Regions from separate parts of the Homo sapiens genome. Here all the other regions are linked to region 2. The links are contacts of gene promoters, found by promoter capture Hi-C in blood cells and fetal thymus (Javierre and others, 2016). All regions are on one chromosome and are shown on one strand. The core of a region is centred on a gene start or on the middle of the fragment in contact, and the rest is flanking DNA. Distances in the headings are between cores, read along the strand shown. Region 1 overlaps PSMC6 (proteasome 26S subunit, ATPase 6). Region 2 holds the start of NEMF (nuclear export mediator factor). Region 3 holds the start of ERO1A (endoplasmic reticulum oxidoreductase 1 alpha).

Evidence for each region. Contacts are between HindIII fragments. The CHiCAGO score rates a contact against its expected background, and 5 or more counts as called.
Region 1: a contact is called between a fragment that was not itself captured here and the fragment with the promoter of NEMF in region 2, in 1 of 17 cell types (neutrophils). The highest score is 5.0, in neutrophils.
Region 3: the fragment with the promoter of ERO1A here is called in contact with the fragment with the promoter of NEMF in region 2 in 1 of 17 cell types (neutrophils); the score reaches 6.0 in neutrophils.

The regions. Positions count from the first base shown.
Region 1 is chr14:52,712,597-52,715,803 of GRCh38, forward strand. It overlaps PSMC6 (proteasome 26S subunit, ATPase 6), which reads left to right. Exons shown (of 14, transcript NM_002806.5): 7 at 1,285-1,372. Among named protein-coding and RNA genes, the nearest start is that of PSMC6, 7.0 kb to the left of the region's middle. The HindIII fragment of the contact is 3,410 bases long and covers 1-2,996 here.
Region 2 is chr14:49,850,890-49,854,349 of GRCh38, forward strand. It overlaps NEMF (nuclear export mediator factor), which reads right to left and starts at 1,899. Exons shown (of 33, transcript NM_004713.6): 1 at 1,806-1,899; 2 at 918-986; 3 at 674-776. The coding sequence starts at 1,864. It also overlaps RN7SL3. RefSeq lists an enhancer at 1,906-2,145 and a silencer at 2,949-3,008. The HindIII fragment of the contact is 4,280 bases long and covers 1,060-3,460 here.
Region 3 is chr14:52,693,849-52,697,344 of GRCh38, forward strand. It overlaps ERO1A (endoplasmic reticulum oxidoreductase 1 alpha), which reads right to left and starts at 1,710. Exons shown (of 16, transcript NM_014584.3): 1 at 1,520-1,710. The coding sequence starts at 1,633. RefSeq lists enhancers at 1,235-1,736, 1,342-1,391 and a silencer at 1,642-2,181. The HindIII fragment of the contact is 13,242 bases long and covers 1-3,496 here.

The DNA of each region.
Region 1 (3,207 bases), core at 42-2,541, 2.9 Mb after region 2:
GTCACGCTTTATGCACATATGGACACAACTTTTTTTTTTCTTTTGAGACAGGGTCTGGTTCTTTTGCCCAGGCTGGAATGCAGTGGTGCAGTCTCAGCTCACTGCAACCTCTACCTCCCAGGCTGAAGTCATCCTCTCACCTCACCCTCCCAAGTAGCTGAAGGCATGCGCCACCACATGTGACTAATTTTTTTATTTTTTGTAGAGATGGGGTTTCACCATGTTGTCCAGGCTCTTCTCGAACTCCTGAACTCAAGCCATCCTCCAGCCTTGGCCTCCCAAAGTGTTGGGATTTACAGGCGTGAGCCACCGCACCTAGCCCAACACAACTATTCAATAGAAATTTCTCTCTCGGTCAGGCATGGTGGCTCACGCCTGTAATCCCAGCACTCTGGGAGGCTGAGGTGGGTGGATCATCTGAGGTCAGGAGTTCAAGACCAGCCTGCCAATACAGTGAAACCCCATCTCTTCTAAAAGTACAAAAATTAGCCAGGTGTGGTGGTGGCGCCTGTAGTCCCAGCTACTCAGGAGGCTGAGACAGGAGAATCTCTTGTACCCGGGAGGCAGAGGTTGCAATGAGCCAAGATCATGCCATTGCACTCCAGCCTGGGCAACAGACTCTGTCTCAAAAAAAAAGAAATTTCTCTCTTAAGTTACTGGTACTATAAGTAATTTAAATTGGACTTTCAGATCTTCAATTTCTCTAGTCTCTACTTTTCTTCCTTGAATCAGTCTTGAGAGCAGAACATACTGTTCTTTAAAAGCTGCCGTGGCAAAATGCCAACAGATAAAAATTGTATATACCTTTTCTCTTGGTATGTTGTCAAATCCATCCCCCATTTTAGAATTATTTTGTGTTGTATTTTCAAATGCAAACTAGTATAGATCTTTTGAGTTGTGTTTTTTGTTTATATGTTCATTTGACTTAACTGATTTTTTTGTGGTATAATTTTTCATTGAGGTATAATTACATTAAAAAAATGTAGATTCTTAAGTGTACATTTCAAATATGTTTGGACAAGTTATATATCTGTGTAACCATCACCCCAATCAAGTGTGTGGTTTATTTAAAAAACATTATTTGAAATTTTTTAGATTTAAGAGATCTTAAATCTACCTGGAGCAAAACCTCTTAATATAAATGGTTTTACCTAGCATGGAAGTCTAGGTCTATTAAGAATTATGATGTGTACACCTAACTAAGGTGATATTTGACTTAGAGTATTTGAAAGTACATTAAAAATCTTGACTAACTTTTTAAGAAAGATTTAACTTCTTTTCTAGGTGATAGAATTACCTCTTACAAACCCAGAGTTATTTCAGCGTGTAGGAATAATACCTCCAAAAGGCTGTTTGTTATATGGACCACCAGGTTGGTATTGAATTATTTCTACTCCACCAATAAGATAAATGAATTAAGGAATTAAAAAAAAAAAGACAATTTTTTTATTTTTATTTTTTTGAGACACGGTCTCACTCTGTTGCCCAGGCTGTAGTGCAGTGGCACAATCTGGGCTAACTGCAACCTCTGCCTTCCGGGCTCAAGTGATTCTCCCACCTCAGTCTCCCACGTAGCTGGGACTGCAGGCGTGCATCACCATGTCTGGTTAATTTTTGTATGTTTTGTAGAGAAGCAATTTTGCCATATTGCTCAGGCTATCTCAAACTCCTGGACTCAAGCGATCTGCCCACCTTAGCCTCCCAAAATGTTGGGATTACAAGCATAAACCACTGCGCCTGGCCATAAGGTGGAAATTTGATGTGGGCAGTTCCAACTTCTCCTCTCTTCAGAGTGAGAATGAGATAGGATATTTATGTCTACTGTTCTTTGAGGCATGCTTAGTGCATTTGTGCCTCACAGTACATTTATCTTAACAGGCCATGTGATTCTAGTGCAACAGTCCTCAAATTGTGGTTCACAGACCCAGAGGTGCTTTCATGGACTCTGTAAGGTCAAAACTACTTTATAATACTGAAATGTTAAGCCAGGCGCAGTGGCTCACACCTGTAATCCCAGCACTTCGGGAGGCCGAGGCAGGCAGATCACCAGAGGTCAGGAGTTTGAGAGCAGCCTGGCCAACCAACATGATGAAACCCTGTCTCTACTAAAAATACAAAAATGAGCCAGGCGTGGTGGCGTGCACCTGTAATCCCAGCTACTCGGGAAGCTGAGGCAGGAGAATTGCTTGAACCTGGGAGGCAGAGGTTGCAGTGAGCCGAGATTGCCCCACTGCACTCCAGCCTGGCTGACAGAGTGAGACTCCTTCTCAAAAAAAAAAAAAAAAAAAAAAATTTTTTTATATAAAGCAAATGTACCTATAGCATACTGCTTGACATATGTAGCCCCACAATGACACAAAACAAAAAACTAAAATGTTGTTTGGCTCTTCCACTGTGTTGACATTTGTGCTGATGGTGCAAGAGCACCATGGGTAAAATTAAATTACTTGCACTGTAGTGTGAATCAGCATTAGTGGCATGAAACGGTGCTAGTTAGTAGCCATTGCGTTCTTGACTGCCACATACTTGCAGTGTAAAAAAAAAAAAAGTCAGTTTCACTATAAAGTCCTTGGTGAAACAGTAAAAATTATTAATTTTGTTAAATCTTCATCTTTGGGTAATATTTTGTGTTCTTCATGATAAAAGGGAAAATAAATATAAAGTACTGCTGCATATTGAATAAGATAGTTGTCTTTAGGAAAAGCACTTGTGCAGTTATTTAAGTTGCCAGCTGAATTCATTGCTTTTTATGGAATACTATTTTTGCTTGAATGGACCATTTACAGATATGCTGTGATTATCAGACTGGTTATTGGTTATTAGTTATTGATTACTCAAGACTGGTTTTTGGTTATTTGGCGCACATTTTTTCCAAAGCGAACAAATTAAGCCTGTCATGTTAAACAACTGACACCATCTATTGCCATTGATAAAATATGAAATGTCAAGTGAAAATTAGAATTTTTAGAAACATATATCTGGCACTATGTGGTTGAAGCTTTTTCTTTTTTTCTTTTCTTTTCTTTTTTTTTTTTTTGATAAGGTGTTACTCTGTTACCCAGGCTGGAGTGCAGTGGCGTGATCATCCTGGCTCGCTGCAACTTCTGCCTCTTGGGCTCAGGTGATTCTTCCACCTCAGCCTCCTGAGTAGCTGGTACTACAGGTGTGTGCCACCATGCCAGGCTAATTTTTGTGTTTTTAGTAGAG
Region 2 (3,460 bases), core at 649-3,148:
ATGAAAATTATACTTTAAAAAAATTAATGTTGGGCCAGGCGCGGTGGCTCATGCCTGTAATCCCAGCACTTCAGGAGGCTGAGGCTGGCGGATCACCTGAGGTCACGCATTTGAGATCAGACTGGCCAACATGGTGAAACCCCATCTCTACTAAAAATAGAGAAATTAGCCGGGTCTGGTGGCACACGCCTGTAATCCCAGCTACTGAGGAGGCTGAGGCAAGAGAATCACTTGAACCTGGGAGGCAGAGGTTGCAGTGAGCCAAGACTGTGCCACTGCACTCCAGCCTGGGTGACAGAGCGAGACTCCTTCTCAAAAACGAACAAAAAAACAAACAAACAAAAACAAAAAAATTAACGTTGGTCTAATTTAGAATTGTTTTGATGCAGAGAAGTGAATTACAGTTAAGGAACTGTAAGGCTGAATGTGATAAAAGCTTGAACTCTAATAGTGACTGTGGAAACAGAAGATCTGGAGCAGAACAGGATGTGAAAGGTAATGGGGAGAAATCAATTAATAAATATTCACTTTATTCAACCCATTATCTGTCAACCACTCCCTTTACCTTCATTTTATCTGCACTTTATTCGTAACAGTGAAGGAAACCCCAATTAAAAACTTAATTGTTAGTGAGCAATCTCTTAAAATTTAGCTTCAAGCGTAACAAGTTTACCTTCATGGCAAAACTAGACGGCATCATATTCTTAGGCCACTCAAATTCTGTTGTATGAATTCGTATGCCAGATTCAAGTAAAAGTGTAGCTTTAAAGTCCGGTCTGTAGAAGAAAAAAGTCGAATTTTTCTTTAGGGTATATGCCAAAGCTAATTGCTAAACAGGCTTAAAATGTAGGTTAAAAAAAATCAGTAATCTCATACTTAATTGTCAAAGAGAAAATAAGCCTATAAAATGTTCTTACTTTTGAAGACGAATAAGGTATGTCTTATTATCCACATCATAAACATTGTTTACTCTCATTCCTAGCAAGCTGCAAAGATAAAGGAAACATGTAACATGTTACACTATTGTCTGAAACATAAAACTACACATAATTTAATAAAAGCTTCGAAAGAGCGGATCTCAGTCTCTAAGGATATGGAGTCAGCCGAGGAGCAGAGTCTGAAAGCCATTTGGAGATTCAGTTCAAAACTTAAGAGTAACGATTTAAAAACAGAAGTGGTCTATCAGCTCTAGGAACAACACACTATAGCTTGCGTCTTCCAAATGACCCAATTTTGGGGGAGAAATACAGTAAAATATAATCCAATTAATTTATTACAAGGGAGAAAAAAAAAAGATAAAAGAGGGCCCCGAAAATATGACAAAGCTCACAGGGCTGAATAATAGAATCCAGACTAGAATCCAGATCTCAGTCCAAATCTGCTCAATCCAGCTAAAACCGCGATGCTCTCTCTCTCTCTGGGGTGAGGGGAGGGAGGTGTTCAAGAAACCAAGCCCCCAGTCTGGAAACCTCTGAAGCAAACGACCACTCTGGCGTCTCGTGTTTTAACAAACGTTTCCTGCCCAACCCGGACAACCCAGGCCAACAATGCAAGAGCTTCGCGCTAGCGGGGCAAGCCAGAGAGCTGGGAGGACGCGGGGGATGGGGCACGAGGTGCCTGGGACCCCCAGGGGTATCCTAAGGGTCACGGGAAAGACACCACACGCCTGCCCACTCAGGCCTAGGCAGGTCCATAGACGCACTAGGAAATAAGGAAACATATCAAGCTGGTCTGTTTGCGCCATGGGACTCCGGCCTCTGCCTCCTGCACTCCCCACACGAGCCTCGTCACTTAGGGTACTGTACCTAGCATTCAGCTCCGCGAGTACGGCGCGGAGGTCAATGGTGCTAAAGCGGCTCTTCATGGCGAGGCCCGAGGGTCACTACCGCAAGTTCCTCTACTGCCCGGCCGGACTCGACGCCACTTCTCCTCCGCGCAGGCGCACTTGGCGGAGCTCTACGGCCGCGCAGAAGACCCAATATTCCTCGAGGCGAACGTATTTGTGTCGCTTTTCTGAAGATTTCGATTGTCAAGTTGCAGCTGACTCTCTTCATTGTACCAAAATTCAAATTCGAATAAAGATTCAAACTGTTCTCTTGAAACTGCATTCCTTCCTGGAACCCTTACGGACCAGTCTGGTTACCGTGCCCCATTGTGTCTTGGGCTCAAGTCAGCCTTCATAGTGACCCCTGCTGGTCGAAACAATTTTCGAGATGATTATCAGGAGTATTTCCCCACAGGGGGGCCGTAGGGCTCAGTGTAGAAGAGCAAGGACCCCTTTCTGCGCGCTTACTTTGACATAAGATTTTGAAATGTAACGAAACGGAACTGCTTCGGTCCTTCTAAGATTATCCTCAACGATCGAGGCGAACTCTCAAAACGGAGTTCCTATTTTGATGGGTCCTGCTCTCGGAAGGAGCATTCTGCAATTGATTACAGGATTCTCATCGAACCTCGGTCTTGGTACCCCTGAGACTCACCGCAGTACCTGGTGTACAATCGGTGCTCCATAAACACTTGGCAGCATGAATGTGCAAGTGTTTAGCTAGATAATGGTGAAATAAGATAAAAATAAAAACAAGAAGATTCCCAATGGGGGTGGGGTGGGAGGGGGGATTCACAGTGTAGTGAGGAAAATAGTCCTGTAAGAATGTAAATTCTGCATTTCTTTTGTCTTAGGATAGATGCATGGGAAGAAAGGCTACTTTATAAGGTGAGAACTCAAAAGAGGCAGGGTCTCACTATGTTGCCCAGGCTGGAGTGCAGTGGCTATTCACAGGCGCAATCCCACTACTGATCAGCACGGGAGTTTTGACCTGCTCCGTTTCCGACCTGGGCCGGTTCACCCCTCCTTAGGCAACCTGGTGGTCCCCCGCTCCCGGGAGGTCACCATATTGATGCCGAACTCAGTGCGGACACCCGATCGGCATAGCGCACTACAGCCCAGAACTCCTGAACTCAAGGGATCCTCCAGCCTCAGCCTCCCGAGTAGCTGGGACTACAGGCACGCGCCACCGCGCCCGGCGCTCGGCGTCGCTGCAAAAGAGCTGCTAGAGGCTTGCAGGCTACACATGGTAGCAACCAGAATTCCTACCACCAGAAGGCGACTCTAAACAGAAAGGGCGCCGCTGCTATTTCAGAACTGGTACCAGTAGATGCAAAAATGGCTATAGCACATACTGCACAGCATTACTGTCATACGGTACAGTAAACCATACAGAATGGCCCAAAATATGAAAGCATTGGGGAGAAGGTGGAGAACAGGGAACTTTTGTATGCTGTTGATGGGAATGTAAATTAGTAGAGCCATTGTGCAAAACAGTATAAAGGCTCCTCACAAAATTAAGAATAGAATTACCATGTGATCTAGCAACAACATCACTATCCTGAAGATATATGTTCATGTTCATTGCAGCATTATTCACAATAGCCAAGATATAGGGATAATCTACTTTTCATC
Region 3 (3,496 bases), core at 460-2,959, 2.8 Mb after region 2:
CTCGTTCTAAAAGAAAAAGAAAGGGGTTTAACAGAATTTTATGTTAGGGAAGTATTTGAATATGAGGGTATTGTGAAAGAGGAAAAGTTTAATCACTAGTTAGAAGAAAAAGAAAATAAATGCAAAGAATTTAAAGTTCTATTTTAAGCAGAACTCCAAAAAGGTTATTAAGGAAAAAAAAAGTAAAAGTTGAAGAGTTCAACATGTACTTTTATTCCAGTATCCAAATCTCCAGAATGTAGCTGAAAATGTTACATTGGACATCTTCTTTCCGTAAAGAATATTTTATTTTAAAGTCACTTATTTCTATCTTATTTTTTAAATGTTTAATCTCGGTGTTGCGTTATATTTCTAATCAGAAGAAAAATGACCCTTTTCCTTTTAAGTACTTGATTGTGTGTCCTTTGTAATGATTGAAGGTAAAGGACTTTTCAATGTCTCAGTTGTAAAGTAGCAATTTTCTTTCAACTTCCCTTAGTTTCCTAGATAACACTCACCTCAACTCCCAAATCACTCAGCAAAACAACAAAATCCAAGAATGTAAAGTAGTGAAAGAGAAACCTTTCATAATATTTAAATGCATCTTTCCTTTGACATGGTATCATGCCCCTAAACACATAAAATGGTATTTCTGATAATAAATTAATAGCAAAATCCACTTAGGAATAACATGGATGCCTAACCCTTAATTTTGTATAAAACGTAATTTTTATCAACAGAGTCAACCAAAAAGTGGCTTTGACAAGAGTAATCACATTGAAATACTAGATACTGAAGATAATGGAAAACTGTAAGTTTCTCTCAATTTTTTGCTCAAGAAACCACATCTCTTACAGAAGGAAATGATCATAATCCGCTTGTAATTAAACTTGTGCACTGAAGAATAAGGACCTTCCTCCCAATTCGTACCAGCTTAACGGGTGTCACGATAAGAGAATCTCATTACATTCGAGAAAAAGAGCACACAGGACCAGAAACCAGAGGGCAACTGCAGTCCCAAAGACATCAGGTAGTTGGGCTTACACACAGAAAAACCGCAAGCAGCCATTCTTCCGCCTAACATCGAAATCTGAGATCAGCCCACAAACGTCTTAGCCAGAAAGGCTGGCGAAATGCACGCAGCACAGGTACTGGGTACACAAGTTCCTGGTCAAGAGAGAAGTGAGAAAGATCCAGGTTCTGTGAAAATAGCAAATACTGGCAGGGCATTATACACTGTGCACACTCTCCCCGGGCAGATAAGACCAACAAAGATGCATAAACCCACTCAACCGCGTGCACCCAACCCCTCTCCTGGTCCGAGGCACCGGAGGGCGCGGCGACGTCCAGGCTGCCGTGGAGGCCCGGTCCACGCCAAGCCAGACTCAGTCCCGGCCACCGGGCAGCAGCACCGGAGTCTCATTCCCGGTGGGAAGAGATGCAAGGACGCACCCCCAGCCGCTCACCCGCCAGGGCGTGCGGGACAGTGCACGCCGCGGAGGGCGCCGGGACCCTCAGCACCAACGCGCACATCGCTCACCTGGCAGAAGCACCTCTGTGCCGCTGTCTCCGGGGGCTGCTCCTCTCCGTGGCCCGAGCTGAGCAGCCACACGGCGCCCAGGAGGCCAAACAAGAATCCCCAGCCGCGGCCCATTGCAGCTCCGGCAGCTTGTCGCCCCACGCTTGGGAGGCCAGTCCGCACGCTCGGTCGCGGGCCGTGCGCCCTCAGATGAAGCCCGTGCGGGCCGGCCCCAGCGGCGCCCCACCTCCGGGCCGCCTCCCAGGCCCGCCTCGGCCCTCCTGCCTCTCAGCGATCGCCACCTCGCGACCCAGCCTGTGGACGTGCCGCGGCGCCCGCGCCGGCAGCCCGGGGCCTCGGACCGGTTCCTTCCCGCCGCGTGAGGCTGACGCACCGACCAGCTTCCCGGCTCGGCCCCGCCCGGTCCGCTGCGCCCGCGCCCGTCCCCGCCCCCGGCTCCCTGACGCCCCCGGCCTGGAGACGCAACCCGACGCGCACAACCCCAGACCCTGCGCGGGAGTCGGGGGTCCTTCCAGTTCCCAGAGCGAGAGCGAAAGCCGGAGGGGCCTGTGTTTTCCTGCGGGGTTGGGGGGCGGGGGGTGCCCGCCCCGCGCCGCCCCGCCCAGCCCCAGCCCGCTCACTCCCGGCCAATCCTTCCGTATCTCAATGCGAGACAATCAAATCGTACGAATTACGTGTCCACCGTGTTCCCGGCGGAGTCTTAAAGCTGAAAGGGATATTAGAGAGCATCTAGACCAGGGCAGCATATGTCATTTATATTTTTAGTAGCCACAGCAAAAGAGTAAAAATAACAGGTACATTTTATTTTTAAAATATTTTTATTTAACCCCGAATGTGCAAAATATTATTTCAAAATATAACCAACATTAAATTTATTCATAAGATATTTGACTTTTTTTGTCTTTGAAATCCAGTGTGTATTCGATGCGAACTAGACCCATTTCATAGTCAAATGTGGCTGGCTAGTGCCCACTGTATTAGACAGCGAGGGTGGAAGCCACCCGCTCATATCATAGGAAGAAACAGGCCTAGAGAAGTGAGGTAAGGTGAGCAAGGATTGGAGGTCCTCTGATACCCAGTCCTGGTCTTTTAACATTCAGAGTTGGGACTAGTCTATCCGCTTTTTTTTTTTCCAGACAGGGTCTCCCTGGGTCACCCAGGCTGGCCTGCAATGATGCGATCGCAGCTCACTGCAACCTCGAACTCCTGGGCTCAAGCGATCCTCCCACCTAAGCCTCCTGAGTAGCATGAACTACAGGCGTGCGCCACCACGCCTGGCTAATTTTATTTTTAGTAGAAACGAGGTTTCACCATGTTGCCCAGGCTGGTCTCAAACTCCTCAAGAGCGATTCTCCCGCCTCAGCCTCCCAAAGTGCTGGGATTACTTTTTTTTTTTTTTTCGAGGCGGAGTCTCGCTCTGTCGCCCAGGCTGGAGTGCAGTGGCGTCATCTTGGCTTACTGCAATCTCTGCCTCCCAGGTTCAAGAGATTCTCCTGCCTGAGCTTCCCCAGTAGCTGGGATTACAGGCGTAAGCCACCACACACTCGGCTAATTTTTGTATTTTCAGTAGAGAAGGGGTTTTGCCATGTTGGCCAGGCTGGTCTCTAGCTCTGAGCTCAGGTGACCCACCCATCTCAGCCTCCCAAAGTGCTAGAATTGCAGACATGAGCCACCGCACCTGGCCTTACTTTTTGTTTTTTGTTTGTTTGTTTGTTTGTTGTTTTAAGAAGACTTTTTTTTGAGACACTCTCACTTCCTCACCCAGGCTGGAGTGCAGTGGCGCAATCTCGGGTCACTGCAACCTCCGCTTCCCGGGTTTAAGTGATTCTTACGCCTCAGCTACCCGAGTAGCTGGGATTACAGGCCTGCGCCACCATACCCAGCTAACTTTTGTATTTTTAGTAGACATGTGGTTTCACCATGTTGGCCAGGCTGGTCTCGAACTCCTGACCTTAAGTGATCTGCCTGCCTCTGCCT